Linked DNA regions of Homo sapiens: region 2 is linked to region 1. The links are contacts of gene promoters, found by promoter capture Hi-C in human tissues and cell types (Jung and others, 2019). All regions are on one chromosome and are shown on one strand. The core of a region is centred on a gene start or on the middle of the fragment in contact, and the rest is flanking DNA. Distances in the headings are between cores, read along the strand shown.

The links. The method cuts DNA at HindIII sites, captures the fragments that hold promoters and counts their contacts. A contact is called where the count stands out against the background at its distance.
Region 2: a contact is called between the fragment with the promoter of F11R here and the fragment with the promoter of FCRL6 in region 1, in 1 of the 25 tissues and cell types used here (adrenal gland).

Annotation. Positions count from the first base shown.
Region 1 is chr1:159,800,857-159,806,507 of GRCh38, reverse strand. It overlaps FCRL6 (Fc receptor like 6), which reads right to left and starts at 4,148. Exons shown (of 10, transcript NM_001004310.3): 1 at 4,053-4,148. The coding sequence starts at 4,083. LOC105371464 (a long non-coding RNA gene) reads left to right here. Exons shown (of 3, transcript XR_922195.2): 1 at 1-3,970; 2 at 4,361-4,560. The HindIII fragment of the contact is 7,287 bases long and covers 426-5,651 here.
Region 2 is chr1:161,018,964-161,023,969 of GRCh38, reverse strand. F11R (F11 receptor) reads left to right here and starts at 2,818. Exons shown (of 10, transcript NM_016946.6): 1 at 2,818-2,960. The coding sequence starts at 2,897. RefSeq lists enhancers at 2,088-2,685, 2,838-3,087, 3,388-3,437, 3,448-3,577. The HindIII fragment of the contact is 9,306 bases long and covers 1-5,006 here.

The DNA of each region.
Region 1 (5,651 bases), core at 2,899-5,398:
CACCCATTCAACCAACCACCCGGCCACCAAACCTCCTAGCCACCCATCCACACAGCCATCCAACCATCCAACCACATAACCACTCAACCACCAAACAACCCAGCCATCAGCCATCCAACCACCCAACCATCCAACCATCCAACCACCCAACCACCCAACCACCCGGCCACTTGACTACTCAACGTTTGTGCTGGACGTACTCCCTAGAACTCTTTGCCCTATCACAGTTCAAATGTTGCCTTCTCAAACAGGTCTTCCCTGGGACTCCAATCAAAAGAATTTTCCCCAATCACTAAAACAATGCCCCATTGTATTATCTTCAAAACACTTATCACTATTTGAATTTATCTTATTCATTAAATTGCCTACATGTTATCACCTCTCTCTCTGGCTAGAATATAAGCTCCATAGTAGCAGGGACTCTGCTTATTTTACTCATTGCTATATTTTCTATGCCCAAGACCTGTGCCTGGAACATAGTCTGTGTTCAGTAAGCATCTGCTGAATAAATGCATGAATGTTTTCCTTTGCATCCCATTGTACGAGGTGGGAAGCAAAAAGTAGAAAACATAGGACTAGACTCTTGTACGAATGTGCCTGAGGGTCCTACCTCCAACATCTACAGGAGAACCCATATAGCAAGGGCAGGACCTGATTCTTGTGGTCCCATCTCTCCACAGAGCTCTGGCAAAAAGGGTATGGAAGTGACCAGACTGAGGAGGATAAGTCCCCTGAAAGAGTAATCATTAAAGGATGTGAGACATTATCAGGCAGCATGGATGAATGAGAGAACTACAAACAAACTGGATGCATCCCACATCATGCTTGCATCTTGGATGTGCTACATTCATGTTTTTAAATGAGTGAATGTGTGAGAACAGGTGACCTGGGAAGAGGGGCCAACTCACAAAATGATGACAGATATGGTTAGATAGGTTTGAATAGCCCAAACAATGGAAGACCTGAAATTGAAGGTCATAGCTGGATATGAAGCAGTGAAGAATCTTCTGGACTTTGGGGCAAGGTGTGAAACAATGAATGAATGTAGGGCTGAGTGCAGTCAGTCCAGCCAATCCTCATACATTTACTTGTGTCCTGCATTGCTGGCATGTCCTAGGTATTTTACATAACACCAAAAAAAAAATGCAAGAATGGCCTTGGGAAGGGTGGGTGAAAACCCTCTAAGAGCAGATGTTTGGCTCTGTCACATGGTATCATCTTTGCTTTCTACACTACTTTGGACACAGGTGGAATCTTTCAGCTCAATTCTCTATTCAGCTCAGGGTCAGCTCAGTCATATGCTCTCAAGAGTGTGCAGAACAATGAGTCTCTTCTTTATCATCCCTCCATCTCCACCCCTAACCCCCATCTATGAGCTCGGTGTAGTGGAAAGCATGCAGGATTTGGAATCAGATGACCTGGACTTGAGTCATGAATTTGCCTCTTTCTGTACGACCTTGAACAAGTTGTCTAAGTTCCAAGAGCCTTCAATATCTCATTCTGTCATATCACATAATAGAAATGATAATAGTCATTTTTTTCTTACAGTGTAGTTGTGAAGGTTATGTTGACCCACTGCCTGGGAAAGTGGTTACTACATTAACTGAAAGCAGAAAGAAGGCCTGACCTCAGAGTGACAGAGACCTTACTCTGTAGTTATGTCTTCCTTCCCTTCCCCACCTCACTGGAAAACAATTGTGCAGCTACAAAGTGCTAAACAAACAGGGTTGAGACTACTGAAGCCAAAAACAAGACAGAAGGCACTCAGGAAGCATAGATGCACTTAAAATGAGCTCCTGTCCCCAAATCTCAATGACTTGCTCCCCATGGTACTGCAAGATCTTGGAGGTGGGATTACAAAATTGGTTTCTGCAATCAAAACAGCAGCCAACTGGGAACATACACAGGGGGTGACACCTGCTTACAGCAGTTCCTGCAATGAGGGCCCAGGGACCTCCATTAGCTATAGGCTGAAGATGAGGTGACAGTATCATGAAGTGGCCAAGAGCTATGGTCAAACCAAGTTGCGTAATAGAATTCCGAAAAATGAAGGCAGGAGCCCCTGCCAACTCTAGGAGCAGGATAATTTCCTCTTAAAGTTTCTGAGGGATCGGGAGATATTTATCTGGGAAAGATGCAACAGAGGAAAGACACAAAATACTTGGTGGGCTAAGCTTAAAAGAAGGGGGAGACTTATTCTGAGTTACTTTATAGGACAGAAATGGAAACTAGAGGGATCATGGAGGCAGATTTCGGCTCAACATGAAGAACTCTCTCACCACTGAGCTCTAGCACTGTGGAACAGGCTGCAGTGCCAAGCTGCAGCAGTCACATTGCTGGGAGGGCTGTATGGGACCCCATGACACCTCCTATGGACGCTGTGTGAGAATGCGGGGAGCAGCCTCCAGTGGTAGGAGGGAAGTTGGCTAATGTTCAGCTCAGAAGAAAATTAAGCCTAATTTCCCAAACTTTAAATACATATTTCACATTCAGCCAGGTCCCCACATGCTCAATGTCAGGATTCCTTTCCTCCCGGAGCCCTGACAGCCAATAATAGTAATAGCCACCAATTTATTATGACCACACCCTGCTCTTGAGAGAGGAAATAGCAGCTCTACACTTATGGTAAGATAAATGTTGCTACACACCCAGCCCCAGTGTCTGTGTTTTAGGCTGTTTTTCCAGGGTCCCTGAGCATCAAGTGGGACCAAATTTGCTGGTGCTGGATTCTCCATTACACTGTGCACCAGTCAGCCGGTCACTGATTCCCTTCCTCTCCTCATTTGCTGTCTGTCATCCTCGTCCTGGGTTCCAAGCTGGAACACTCTCAGACTGTATCTAGACAAGTCCAAGGGCTGTTCCTTTTACAAGGTAGTGCCGGTAGTGCCATTTGCCCCTGGGAGTCTTCTGCCTGGAGTATATCCAGGCATTAGGCTATCCTGTCCCCGCCTCAGTGTGAGCATTAGACCTTTTCATTTGTCCAAATGGCCATTCATAGAACACACGAGTAGCATGCTATGCTGGAGAAGGAACATTGAGTGGAAGGGGCATTTTCCTCACAGGGTCAAATTCTCACAAACTCTGTCCAGGAAGAGGTTATATTTAGGAACAGTTTTGCTTTTCTAGTTCAAGGAATACAAATAGCAAGCAAGCTATTGGGACCAAGAATTAAACAAAAAGTAGGTCCACTTGGAAACTGTAAAGTGAAACAAAATATATGCCAAATTATTTCTTTTAGGTATAAGGGGGGTGACACTGGCTGAGACTGAGCTGGGTCTGGGGGAGCCCAGTGACCCTCTGCGTGCAATCCTCTACCCTTAGACCAGCTCTCTTAGTTACAAGTAGCCTGCATGAGAAGAAATGGAGAGAAGAGAGAGAGAGACATGGATCAGACAATGGAGTTGATTCTTCAAACCAGCCCCATGGATCTGAAACAGCTCCCAACAGAGAGAAGATGTAGGCGGAAGAGAGACAGTCAATTTGAAAAGGGCTTTGGTTACTCAGAGCACAGGCCTTTCAACCAGGTGAGAGGTCTGGCCATTGTTACCTGGTTCTAAGAAAATGCTGAGGCTCCATAAAAATATGTCACCCTGTAAAATTCCACCTCCCATTGCTGAGCAAAATGCCTGGGACTGTTTCCCCTCATTTCCCTGACTCCTTCCCTGTTGCCCCCAGCAGCCTCCTTCCCTCCTGCAACCTCCATTTCCTTTTGAGACAGCTCTGATTAGTATTTTAACCTGATGTCACAAGGTAGAAATGTCATTGGGAAGTTAGGGGACTTTGTAATGTGATTTTCTGCCTCCCTAATTTATCTCTGACATATCAAAGGGCTGCGCTGCCAAGGACCCAGGACTACGGGGTAGGAAACACTGAGGAGTTTCTCCTACCCCAGTGCCCATCTCTCCCAAGCATGCCCAGGTGCACACACCTGTCTTGAGCTCCAGCCACAAACCCACTGGAATTGGGAAAGGTAAGATGAGGAACTTGGTGTCTCAGGGATGACTTACGGTCCTTAGTGCTCCAAGAGGGGATGCCCATGCTCGTTGACTTACCAAAGAGCAGCACAGCCGTCCAGAGCAGCATGGGGCCTGTTCTGGCACAGCGGAGGGAACACAGGTCAGAAACAGGTCAGGGCGAAGCCGGCAGAGAGCAACCAGGCCTCAGGACCGAAGGTGGGTGGGTGGCCTGAGCTGGGTGGTGCTATAGCTTGATAGCCAAAATAGGAAGTGGAAAAGAAACTTACAAAGCTCTAATTGATATTTCCTCTTTGGTTGAAGAAGTATTACATGAATAAATTTTCCTGAACACTAAGTATGAAGGAGTCGGTAAATCACTAATAAATCCCTGACATTTTCTGCAGCTTCAACAAGCCTATGCCAGGGAACTAGGATGGAACATGGTTATGGGACACCTCCATTAGAAAGGTCCAGAGACTGCCCGAATTTGCTTGGCTTCAGCGTCATTCAGCCTGGGAGACAGCGCAGCACTGTAAAACTAAGATCATCTACCCCTTGACCACCGAGTGACCTCCCAGCTTCCAAGGAGCTCCTGTCTCCAGAGGTAAATGTGTGTGGATGCTGCAATGCGATGGAGAAGTGGAGCCCTGAGGATGCTTCACAGGATCCTCAGTTCAGGAGGGAATCAGACATCGATGAGTCTGGAGTAGAACACAGATGGAGCTTCGGCATCTGAGGCTTTTAAGACTGTCAGTATGATTTTGAGAACTATTCCTTAAAAGACACCATTAAGAGAAGGAACAGGCAAGCTGTGGTGTGATGAGATAGTTTAAATACATGTAGCTGACAAAGGGCCCACAGAAGAAATATAAGAATTTCTGCAAGTCAGTAAGAAAAGGACAGACAACATACTAGAAAAATGGGCAAAAATAATTGGATAGGTACTTCACAGAAGCAGATATCCACGTGTCAAATCAACATAGCAAAAGGAGCTAGACATCATAAATCACCGTGGAAATGCAAATTTAAACCATAATAAGATACCACTACACCTTCCATAAGAATAAGGGAGTGATACCAGCTGAGACTGAGCTGGGTCTGGGGGAGCCCGTGACCCTCCCCATGCAATCCTCTACTGAGTATTGGTGAGGATGTGAAGAAACTAGAACTCTTGTACACCACTAGTGGGAATATAAATTGGTACAGTCACTAGAAAATGGCTTGGCAGAATCTACCAAAACTAAACACAGGGATCCCTGATGGCTCAGCATTTTCACTCCTGGGTAAATGTCAAACAGAAATGTATACATATAAGCCTGAAAAAACATATACAAGAGTGCTCATAGCAGCATCATTTGTAATAGATAAAAACTGGAAATTATTCAATGTTCCCTCAACAGAAAAAGAGGTCACACATTCTCATCTCCTCTGTGGACAGAACATGGGAGTTCACGGTGAAACACAGAGTCAGGCAAAATACTAGGAAGCATTTTCATTTTCTTGTTTCTTTTCTTTCTTTTTTCTTTTTTTTATTGAGAAGGAGTCTTGCTCTGTTGCCCAGGCTGGAGTGTAATCTTGGCTCACTGCAACCTCCGCCTCCCAGGTTCAAGTGATTTTCCTGCCTCAGCCTCCCATGTAGCTGGGATTACAGGCATGCACCACCATGCCTGGCTAAGCATTTTCTGACAGTAAAGT
Region 2 (5,006 bases), core at 1,569-4,068, 1.2 Mb before region 1:
GGGAGGATCACTTGAGCTCAGGAGTTCAAGACTAGCCTGGGCTACATAGCAAGACATCGTGTATACAGAACAAAACAACAAAAACAAAGAAAAGAGAGAGAGAGAGGAAGGAAGGAAGAAAGGAAGGAAGGAAAAGAAAGAAAGAAAGAAAAAATTAGCAGGATGTGGCAACGCCTGTGGTCCCATCTACTCAGGAGACTGAGGTGGGAGGATTGCTTGAGCCCAGGAGGTGGAGGTTGCAGTGAGCCATGATTGCACCACTGCACTCTAGCCTGGGCAACAGAGCAAGACCCTGTTTCAAAAATAAAATAAATAAATAAAGGCCGGGCACGGTGGCTCATGCCTGTAACCCCAGCACTTTGGGAGGCCGAGGTGGGCGGATCACCTGAGGTCGGGAGTTTGAGACCAGCCTGACCAATATGGAGAAACCCCGTCTCTACTAAAAATACAAAATTAGCAGGCGTGGTGGCACATGCCTGTAATCCCAGCTACTAGGGAGGCTGAGGCAGGAGAATCGCTTGAACTCGGGAGGCGGAGGTTGCGGTGAGCCGAGATCGCGCCATTGCACTCCAGCCTGGGCAACAAGAGTGAAACTCCGTCTCAAAAAACAAATAAATAAATAAAAATAAAAATAAATAAATAGGCTGGGCGCGGTGGCTCACGCCTGTAATCCCAGCACTTTGGGAGGCCGAGGCGGGCGGATCACAAGGTCAGGAGATTGAGACCATCCTGGCTAACACGGTGAAATCCCGTCTTACTAAAAATACAAAAAAAAATTAGCCAGGCATGGTGGCGGGCGCCTGTAGTCCCAGCTACTCCGGAGGCTGAGGCAGGAGAATGGCGTGAACCCGGGAGGCGGAGCTTGCAGTGAGCAGAGATCGCGCCACTGCACTACAGCCTGGGCGACAGAGCAAGACTCCGTCTCAAAAATAAATAAATAAATAAAATTTCTTAGACACAGAGTCTTTTCCCTATGTTGCCCTGGTTGGTTTCAAACTCCTGGCCTTAAGTGATCCTCCCCTCCTGCCTCAGCCTCCTGAGTAGCTGGGATTACAGGCACACGTCACAGAGCCCAGCTGTCAGTGTATATACCTTTCTCCAAGACTTTAAATTTCTTTCTTTTCTTTTCTTTTTTTTTTGAGACGGAGTTTCGCTCTTGATGCCCAGCAGGCTGGAGTGCAATGGCGCGATTTCAGCTCACTGCAACCTCCTCCTCCCAGGTACAAGCGATTTTCCTGTCTCAGCCTCCCAAGTAGCTCAGATTACAGGCATGTGCCACCACGCCCGGCTAATTTTTTTTGTATTTAGTAGAGACAGGGTTTCACCACGTTAGTCAGACTGACCTCAGGTGATCCACCCACCTCGGCCTCCCAAAGTGCTGGGATTATAGGCGTGTGCCACGCACCCGGCCAAGACTATTAAGCACCCAGTAGGTGGTTTAAATTGAATGGAACCAGAAGCAGAACTTTGGCCAAAGAGATGGGGACAAAGGAATGAGAGCAAAGGTGAAAAAGGCAAAATGTCAAACAATATCATTCTTTTGGATAAAAATGTGGTCTTTTCCCTTGCAATGAGGTAATGCTAAGGAAGTTTTTTCCCCACAGTCTGCATATGCTTAGTACAGTTAAAATTAAATCATCGTAAAATAGAAACTACAACTAGCAAAGGTGTTGAGCATGAATTTCAATTAAAAATGATGTAGCAATATAAATATTAACAGAAAGTTTGAGTATCAACATTGTCTATAGAAAAAAGGTGGCTTAGTCAGCACACAACTATTAGTCACAGTGAGAAAACAAACAATTCTGAAATGTAGGGACCTGTTCACAGATCAAATATGTGTAAAGGACATATCCAGTCACCCAGAGATGTTTCTAGAGCATGTTCAGCTCAGTTTGTATCATCTGGGTGTGTTTTGTGTACATCTGTTTAACTTTCTTCTTGAGATAACGTAATTCTGCTCTTCCCAAGTTGTGTTGTTGTGGGTTTTTAAATTTTTGTTGTTGTTGTTTGTTTTTTGAGACAGGGTCTGGCTCTGTCGCCCAGGCTGTAGTTCAGTGGCGCGATCTAGGCTCACTGCAACCTCCGCCTCCGGGCTCAAGCCATCCTCCCACCTCAGCCTCCCAAGTAGCTGGGACTATACTGCCCAGGCTCCCATTTTCCAGTTGAGTGCTCCCTTTCCCTTTTTTTTCCCCTTTCTTCCTCCCAGCGTAGCTCATCTCTCAAAGCCGGTGGGGTGGACAGAGGAACAGTTTGGAGGTGGTGCCAAAGTAACATTCCATTTCTCTCCGGGTCTTCTCCCCTACCCTCCCATATTAATATTTGTTTTTTACTTGCCAAGAGGCAGGACCAAAGTTTCTGCAGGACCAAACTGCAGGTGCAGTTGCACCAAGCAACTTACATTCAAACAAACACAAAACCCCAAGCCAAGCCGGTCTCCGTAAATCCCACACCACGACTGCCTTTCCTACTTCCTCCTTAGAGGTACTTCTCAGCCCTCTAGCTCCAACTGAGAACCCAGCCAGTCAGGAAGTCGCTACTTCGGGAACACCAACCAATCAGGGGGCCGTCACCTGCTGAAGGTGCGGAATTCGTCTCCTGACGCGACAGTCTCCTGGGCCAATCTGAGGCAGCTCCTGTGGGGAAAGGCGCCAGTGCGCCGAGGCGGGGAGTGGCGGCGGGGTAACACCTGGCCGAGGTGACTCGTTCTGAAGAGCAGCGGTTCCTTACACCAATCGGAACGTGCAGGGGTGGGGAGCTGGCCAATCAGGCGCGGAGGGCGGGGCCGGGCGGGGTTCCACCTGGCGGCTGGCTCTCAGTCCCCTCGCTGTAGTCGCGGAGCTGTGTCTGTTCCCAGGAGTCCTTCGGCGGCTGTTGTGTCGGGAGCCTGATCGCGATGGGGACAAAGGCGCAAGTCGAGAGGAAACTGTTGTGCCTCTTCATATTGGCGATCCTGTTGTGTAAGTTCCCAGAGTTTCGGGAGGAATCGGTTGGTCGGGTCAGAGGTTGGAGGAAGGCTCTCCCCACGCCCCTAGCCCGCGGGAGGGGAGGAGCTCAGAAACCTTCCTATATCGTTCTGCGAATTATCTTTTCCACCCCTGGCTGGTCCCTCTTTCACCACTCTCACAGCTGGGTGAGTGGCTGGCTCCCCTCCCCCACACTGGTGAGTTGTGACCGCACCCCTCACGGCCACCAGGAGGGAGCTGACCCATCTGCACACACCAGAGGTACACTCCTCGTCCTCACTGGAGAGGGCCGTCGGGCCAAGGACCCTTCCACACTCATCTACCCAGCGCGCGCTCCACACGCACCTGGGAAGGGCCAGCCTGCCCCTCCAACGGCCACCCAGCATCCACGAACCCCGCTGCGCAGCCGGGAGCCTTGGCTCCTTTAACGGTCTTCGAAGAAAATCAAATGGAGGTGGTCTGGGGTGGAAGTCTCTTCCCCTAGCTTTTGCTGAAGGAGTCTCTGGCTCTTCTGAATCTTTGAATTGCGGCGGTTGCTCTGGGAAAATGTCTGGGTGCACAGTCTAAAGAGGAAATGCAATAGAAACCTGAAATTTCTCTAAGCGCAGCAGAGGTTCCAGCGAAGTTCCTTTATGGAATAACTACCTCAGGAGTCCTTAATACGTGTTGTTGATTGAGTGACTCTTCCCAGGGGGAGAGTGTATCTGTTGGTTGGCTGGATTCTCATCAGAGCCAGAGCTCTGCCCTCCCTCTGGCTGTGTATGAGAGTTTTTGTTTCCTTTGTAAACTCCCTTTCCTGAGGAACAATGAGGCTCACTTGCTAGGGCATGCCTCTGTCTCTAGATGTGTTTGTGTGGGGCTGAGCGTTTAGTCGGTTGGTTTGTGCGTTAGTCAACCTGTGGCAGTACCTGTGTGTTTATCTGATTCTTGAGTGTGCGTGTCGTTGTGTGAGTAGTTGTGTCAGTATGTGTTCTACATGAGTCTCCCCCCACCCCCAAGGTTCTTGTTTTAGAAAGTGTTAAATGAATGATTACAATCAGTTTGGTGTATGTAGATTCCCTGCCCTTAGATGGATTGACTGCTCATTTCTACCTTATCACAACATAAACCCTTGGGAGAGATTGGACCAGAGGCATATATCATCCTCTTTCTATTTTACTGATAAGGAAACAAGTCCAAAAGGGGAAATGACTTCAATGACAATAGAGTTAGGGGTGGAACCTGGGAATGGAACCAAACCCTCTTGACTTGCTTTTCCTTTTTCCATTCTTTGATCCAGCATCTCAGGCACCCTATAGCACAAGAACTGTTTGGGATACTGCTTCAGAATCTACTGTCTTACTTACCTTTAAACTTACTTTCCCACTAGCTTCTTCATTCATGTCTCCCTCTTTTTTTTTTTTTTTTTTTGAGTTAGAGTTTCGCTTGTTGCCCAGGCTCGAGTGCAATGGTGCCATCTTGGCCCACCGCAACCTCCGCCTTCCGGGTTTAAGCGATTCTCCTGCCTCAGCCTCCCGAGTAGCTGGAATTACAGGCATGCACCATCACGCCCGGCTAATTTTTTGTTTTTAGTAGAGATGGGGTTTCACCATGTTGGTCGGGCTGGTCTTGAATTCCTGCTCTCAGGTGATCCACCCGCCTCGGCCTCCCAACGTGCTGGGATTACAGGTGTGAGCCACCGCGGCTGGCCATGTCTTCCTTTTTTTCTACTCTTTGAGTTCCCTTTTCTTTAATTTCCCTTTTTTCCCTACCCCTTGCCTATTTTACTTCTGCCTGTATTTTAGAACTGCTAGTGACACCCATAGTCAATTTTTGGTTATGTGGTTCTGGTACTAAAGGTTTTTCCAACCTTTGTACTGTGCCAGTATTTTTCCCCTAAGCCCAGAAGTTTCTTCTGTGTGAGTGACTGTATTTGTAACAGTGTTTGTCTGTGACAGTATTTGTCAGGCTTAAAAGCTTCCTGGAGCTGCTTACTCCCTATCCTTTGCCACTGCTTCCTTTCTTTTTTCTCCCTCTAATTTCCTATATTATTTATGATAA